Regions from separate parts of the Homo sapiens genome. Here region 2 is linked to region 1. Evidence: promoter capture Hi-C in 16 types of primary human blood cells and fetal thymus (Javierre and others, 2016). All regions are on one chromosome and are shown on one strand. Each heading gives the region's core, a stretch centred on a gene start or on the middle of the fragment in contact. The rest is flanking DNA. Distances are from core to core; before and after follow the strand shown. Region 1 holds the start of MEP1A (meprin A subunit alpha). Region 2 overlaps ADGRF1 (adhesion G protein-coupled receptor F1).

Region 1 (3,478 bases), core at 281-2,780:
GTGGTGGTGGGCCTAAAGAGTACAAAATGGCAAAGAGGTAAATAATTAATTTTTATTAGATAAATAATGATGAGATTAGAAAAACTCTAATTCTAATCCCATTTCTGTTGTAAAATACAGCAGATTCTCTGAACTGTTTACACAATGGCTAACTCTAAAGAGAGATATTTTAGTGCCTGGCTCTGAAGTCTTGGGACCCATTTATGCATTCACCCATTTACCTTCCTAAACTATTTCTGCTCTGCCTATGCAGCCATTCTCCAGCTATTCCAATTAAATATCAACTAACTGGCTTCTCTGTGAGTGAGACAAAGCCAGAAAAATTGACCCTTAGTTATTGGTATGTTAGTTTTGTAGCCTTCAGATAGCACTGAGCTATTAAGGTATGGGCTACAAGATCTGGAAGTAAGCCCCATCACTGCTACCTATGATCTTGAGCAAGTCACTCTACCCATGAGAAGCCACCTGTCGCTTCCCAAAAAAATGAAAACAGCACTTACTCCACGACAAGACTGGACAAATAAATATGCAATTGCATATAAAAGCTTTTGTAAACTGAAGGTACTTATTATCATGAATAGCTCTGCTTCCACAAATCCTGACCTAAGACACTGGGAATGCAGAGGCTTCTCTCTCATTTCAGAAGCAGGACAACAGAGAGAAAACAGAGATGATGACTCAGCTTCTCTCTCCTCTCAGTAATGGATGAGACTGATGAATTTCTTCAAGAAATATATTTGTAAATGAGATGTCTAAGTGGAGATTGCTTTACACTCACCCCTAAGTCTCAACCGAGGAGTTGTTAGTGAATATGATGGGCCAGTGGAGGGGTTGGGTTTTGTTTCCCCACTAAATATAACCAGAGGCTTATTCTTATATTTTTCTTTAACAATCGGAATAATTATCTATTTGCTTTCCTTTTCCTCCAAATACAAATTGGAAAAATAAAATTTTTATAAAGAGAAACTTGTTACATATTTCTAGATCCATTGAGGACTTCCTAGCTCTCCTAGAAAGTCTGGTCTAACTATCTTCTCTTTCCGCATTTTTATCTTTCAGAAAATGCAATTTCTCACAAAGCACCAAAAAATATTTCTCCCCCAGAGAATCACAATACAGTATTAGGAAGGAAAGTGTTCAGTAATCCCACCACTGGGTTTCAAGTAATTTCAAGACTTTAATAACACAAAAATTGAACTCACCTAAATTGATTTCTGAAATATCCTTCTGTTCACCAAAATCTGCATCATGTACTGTTAAAAGTGAGAAAAAAAATTATTATTAGTCTTGCCGAAGGAAAAAAGTTCAAAAACACTCTCTGTGCATTTGAACTAATTCTTACCATTTTCTTCAGGAAGATACTTAATCTGAAAAAAATAAATATACAGAAAATGGATAATGTATACTAGAATTAATATTTCTAAATATCCAAAAAGCAGGACTCGACTTACCGGTACAGCTGCTATGTGGGCAAAAAGCAAGGTAAAAAAGAGAATGCAAGTGGATCTAATCCAAGCCATTGCTGCAAGTGAGCTGATTTTAGCACACACCTTGTCATAAATACCGTTTAGACTTTACCCTGACGGTCGTATTAGAAACTTTGACCCTTCCATATGTACCGTAGTGCCAATAAAGGTTGTCAAAGATAACATCATTGACTCTTTCGAGGACAAACACTAAGTTTACCTTAAATGCTTAAGCTCCAAAGACTGGGGAAAAGTTTGAAAAATTAATACGGAAATGAGCATATAAGAACTAATAACATTCCTATAGGGCAGCCATAGCCATTCATATCATAAAACAGGATAGACGATCCCCTTAACAATAAAAATAAAAATAATTTATAAAATTATTATTATTTAATTCTAATAAAATATAAATTCAAATTTTATGGAAATGTTATAAAGCAATTATTGAAGGACATAAAAATACCTGACTCTCTCTCTATATGTACATATGTATGAAATATTAATAGATTGTTTTAATATTAATCTATAAATTCATTGTCATTCTAGTAAAAAATCTAACAGGGTTTTCAGTGGAACTTGCCAAGCTGACAAATGGTTCAATTCGCATGAAAGAGTAAACATTGAAGAATAGATAAGAAAATTCTGAAAAGGCTGAATAAAGAGAAAAGAATTGCCTCAAAAGAATATCAGGAGCTTTGGTAAAGTTACAGTAATTAGAGTGTAATAGTTCCAAAAATAAAGATAAAATGAATCTATAGACTGGAATAGGTAATATCCAAATAGATGCAAGCATATGCAGGGCTTTTATGTATAAGAGGAACCAAAAAGGCAAGAGGGAAACTTGGGTCTCTTTCATAATAATGTGGGAATAATTGCATTTCCATATGAGGAAATACATTAAATGTACACCTGATACCATTGACAAAAATAAATTCTAGATAGATTAAAAATTTAAATATGAAAATATAAACTTCAAAAAAGAAAATATAGGAACATATTTTTAACCTTTAGGTCAAGAAAGATTGCTTAAACATGAAAAAAACATAGAAATTACAGAGGAAAAGAATAATACATTTGACTGTATCAAAATTTAAACTTCTTTATGACAAAAACATAACATGATTAAAAGACAAGCCACAGGTGAGAGATGATATGTATACTGCATATAATTGAATAAGAATAAGTATTCAGGATATGTAAAGAATTTCTACAAATCAATAAAAAGAACAGGAGATTATCTAAGGAAAAAATGAACAAAAAATATGAGTAGCAAATTCACAAAAGACCCAGATGGCCAATAAATATGTAAAAAGATTTTTAGCCTCGTAAGTAATCAGAAAAATTATAGGTTCAAATAGCAGTAAAATACCACCTCAAGCTAAGATTGGCATAAATTAAGAAGACTGACAATATCAAGTGTCAACAAGAAGGTAAGAAAATAGGAAATCTAGTAGGACATCAATTTGATGCTATCTAATGAAGTTGAAATGTGCACAGTTCATAAGATAGAAACTTCACTTCTAGGTCTATATGCTAAAGGAACTCACACATATGTGCACAAAATTCCACATAGCATATTCATTGAAGTTTTTTTGTTATGGTAAAGAATGGGGAAAATGTGTTTATACTAAAAGAAAAGATAAATTATGGAATATATTCAGCCATGCACAGGTAAATGTTTAATAATCGGCTCTTTTAAAAAAAGTAAAAACAAACAAGCAAACAAACAAAACCAAGCCTTTATTTGTAGTGTTTGTTGATTGCCATGGTCAATTTCAAGCTACCAACACCATGTCACTGAATGCAGTGTTGGGAAGAGATGTACACAGTGGGCTCCATCTGCGCCAGCACAATACTAAATATATGCACACACCCACCTATTCTTGCCTGCACCAGATATAAGAATCTTTGGCATTAGAGCAATCTTCAAGGTCTAGAGCCTGCATCTCTCTACCTCAGACTTACTACTGGGCAGGTGGGCTAGTCCTGCTGTCAAAAAAGCATTTCCT
Region 2 (3,478 bases), core at 290-2,789, 250 kb before region 1:
TTTTCCTTTAGGGTGAATTAGTTTAAGCTTTGCCTGGATCCATATATATCCAGGAAGTACTTCTCAATTTAACTCCTTCCCAGGACTCCAAAAAACCCTAGAATTGACTAACCATTTCTCCTGCTACTTCCCCAAATAAATATAAAATGTCACACTGTATTTTCTTAGTAGAGGCCTTGAAAATATATAATTTTTCTTTTCTCTTTTCTTTGTTTTCATGAAAAATCCATTTATGTAAACCTGATAGCCTATGTAATGTACCATGCCAGAGACTACATGAAGGAAAAATACCGAAGGAGATATAGAAAGAAGGTCAAGGTGGGAGAGGTGTGGAGAAGTGATGACCTTGGCTTTTTCATGCTGAGATCCATTAAGCTCAACTTGATAATAGCATTCATGGGCTGGAAATTACAAACAGAGGCAAGAATAACAAAAAATAAATAAAAGTACATTCTTTAATATGTTAGAATATTAACACAAGCCTTTTATTATGCTCTGTTGTCATTAAGAAAACACCACTCATTATCTAACCATAACCCAAATTGACAACAGTGTTCTAATAATGGTCCCATAATACTTTATTCAACCTTTGACAAGTAGTAAAACATTGAGCAAATTATTTAGTTGTCTTATCCTGGTTATTTCATTTGTAAAATGGTGCCAATAAGCGTTAAGATTGGAAATAGGAGTGTATGCCTGTGGAGTCTGACAAGCTCAACTTGCAAACTCACCTTTTGTGCACAACCCCAAGCTGATGTGAATTATTGTTGGATGCCTTGTATGTCTTTCTTCTCCAAAAGTAGAGTAAATTTCTTAAAAAACAGGGACAGTGTCCCAATAACAGGGTCTGTCTGTTGCTGGGCTGAGGGCAAGGAAAGCACCATACTTTCACAACAATGTGCCTTCTAATGTCTTTCATTACACAACTAAAGGAATGCAAACATCTCTTTAAAAAAGTAAATGAACACATTCATTCAAATTTGGATATAAATAAATGATTTTAGTGCTTTGGCTGAGAGTAAGTAAAGTAAAAACTGGCAGGAGCAAGAGGGCACTGGGTATCTGAGGGCATTAGCAGTGGTGGGGTGTGCGTCACAAGGGTGCACAAGTCAGAAAGTGGGGGAGTGGCATCCCCGGGACAAGTGTCACTGAATTCACAATTTTGCTTAAGGACACCCTTAGGAAACTGTGCTGTGTAACCTACCTAATCTAAATGTTTATATTTGTAACTTTCAAAATATTTTGCCTGTTTTTTTTTTTATTTTATTTTATTTTTTGAGACGGAGTCTCACTCTGTCGCCCAGGCTGGAGTGCAGTGGCGTGATCTCGGCTCACTGCAAGCTCCACCTCCCGGGTTCACGCCATTCTCCTGCCTCAGCCTCCCGAGTAGCTGGGACTACAGGCATCCACCACCATGCCTGGCTAATTTTTTGTATTTTTATTAGAGACAGGGTTTCATTGTGTTGGCCAGGATGGTCTCAATTTCCTGATCTCCTGACCTCGTGATCCTCCTGTCTCGGCCTCCCAAAGTGCTGGGATTACAGGCGTGAGCCACCACGCTCAGCCACCTGGTTCTCTTTTTAATGTTCTTTGGCAGGGAACACCCATAGCTTGTAGAGAAGGGGAAACGCTGTTGCCAAATACATATGTCTTGGGATTTTCCTAAATTGTGTTTGTCTTAGCAGAGTAGTGCTCGCAAGATTTCAAGGCCTTCAGATTTCTTGACTGGATAGATACATGGTTTTATTTTATTTTATTTATCTATTTATTTATTTATTTATTTTTGAGACAGAGTTTCTCACTCTGTTGCTCAGGCTGGAGTGCAGCGGCACAATCCCGGCTCACCTCAACCTCCACATCCCAGGTTCTAGCAATTCTCCTGTCTCAGCCTCCTGAGTAGCTGGGATTACAGGCATCTGCCACTACGCCTGGCTAATTTTTGTATTTTTAGTAGAGACAGAGTTTCACTATATTGGCTGGGCTCTTCTCAAACTCCTGACCTCAAGTAATCCACCGGCCTTGGTCTCCCAAAGTGCTGGGATTACAGGCGTGAGCCACCATGCCCAGAGATACATGGTTTTAATAGATGTGAAAACAATTTAGGATCTTGGAGGGATAGTACAAAAGGTCTATAGCATCGTGGTCTGAAACATACACTCTTCCATTCACAGCTGGGTTCAAGCCTTGATAAACTCAACCCATAGTACACAAAACCACTAAGAAAGGGAAGCCTTCTTATCACATCCCCTCCCCAGTAAGCCACAGATAATCTCATAGAGGCTCCTGGTCAGTGGCTGATGGAAACTGGGACCTGGCATGTTGAGAATGAAAATTCATAGGAATTAATAATAGAAGTGGAATATGCCCTAGCATTTCATAGAGTTAAAATAAATTTCCTATGTGTAGTCAGTTGAATAAAGAAAATGCAGAGATGAGCAGCAATGAGGTATGCAGTCCTAAAACTGCAAACTCTAGTTACATTTTATTGATGAGCATTATCAGATCCTCATGGTGTCTTCTTGGTTTTAGTGCAAATGTCAGTTTTTAATCTCCAGAGGTCCACAAATCTAAAGACTTTAAAGTCCTTAAGAAAATTTTCTTATTCTTTTCTTCTTTCTTGGAAGACAAAACTTTAAAACCTGATAAGAGTTTCTTTATTGTTTTGGGATAAGCAGATATTTATTATACATTTGTGAAGTTGGGACAGCCTGTCATAGTACAACAGATTCACACCTGCAAAGTTTTGGGTAAAGAGAATTTGTGTTAAGCAGATTATATTTTCCATGAACACCTTTTACACTTGTGTTTGTACTGCATGCAGCCCGACTCTACTTGGAGACTTTCCTATGCTTCGTCTCTTAGATAATCAAGCTAATTATTTCTGATAAGACACTTAATGATATATTTCTTAGGCATATCATAGTCTTTTACGTTGTTGAACAAGGTATCAATTAAGCAAGTAATTGGTAAAAGATGTAGATAGCAGTAGAATTTTAAAAATATATTTAGGTCAGAATTTTATAGGAAAAGGGCCTCATTAAACAAGCTTACAGCTAGACAGGGGGAATAAATTCTAGTGTTCTATACCACTGTAGAATGATTATACTTAACAATAATATATAGTTTCAAATAGCTAGAAGGAGAGTATTCAATGTTCCCAACACAAAGAAATGATAAACGTTTGAGATGATGGATATGCTAATTACCCTGATCTGATCACTGTATATCACATATATCAAAACATCACTAGGTACTCTATAAATGTGTACAATTATTATTTGTCAATTAAAAATAAAATTTAAAATAAATAGAATTGATAAAGAATTATCAAGGTGGTCTGGATAAAAAACTGTTTCATTGGGAAAAATAGTTGGCAAACTTGGCTATTCACTTGGAGGAAATGAAAGGAAATCTGAAAACCTAAATAAATTCCAGCAGGATTGAATATTTACTTATTTCGTCCCAAAACCTAAATTAA

The links. The method cuts DNA at HindIII sites, captures the fragments that hold promoters and counts their contacts. A CHiCAGO score of 5 or more calls a contact.
Region 2: a fragment that was not itself captured here is called in contact with the fragment with the promoter of MEP1A in region 1 in 1 of 17 cell types (M2 macrophages); the score reaches 5.5 in M2 macrophages.

Annotation. Positions count from the first base shown.
Region 1 is chr6:46,791,441-46,794,918 of GRCh38, reverse strand. MEP1A (meprin A subunit alpha) reads right to left here and starts at 1,530. Exons shown (of 14, transcript NM_005588.3): 1 at 1,452-1,530; 2 at 1,343-1,367; 3 at 1,203-1,253. The coding sequence starts at 1,520. The HindIII fragment of the contact is 4,281 bases long and covers 548-3,478 here.
Region 2 is chr6:47,038,271-47,041,748 of GRCh38, reverse strand. All of the region lies in intron 1 of ADGRF1 (adhesion G protein-coupled receptor F1), which reads left to right. Among named protein-coding and RNA genes, the nearest start is that of ADGRF1, 2.3 kb to the left of the region's middle. The HindIII fragment of the contact is 3,019 bases long and covers 30-3,048 here.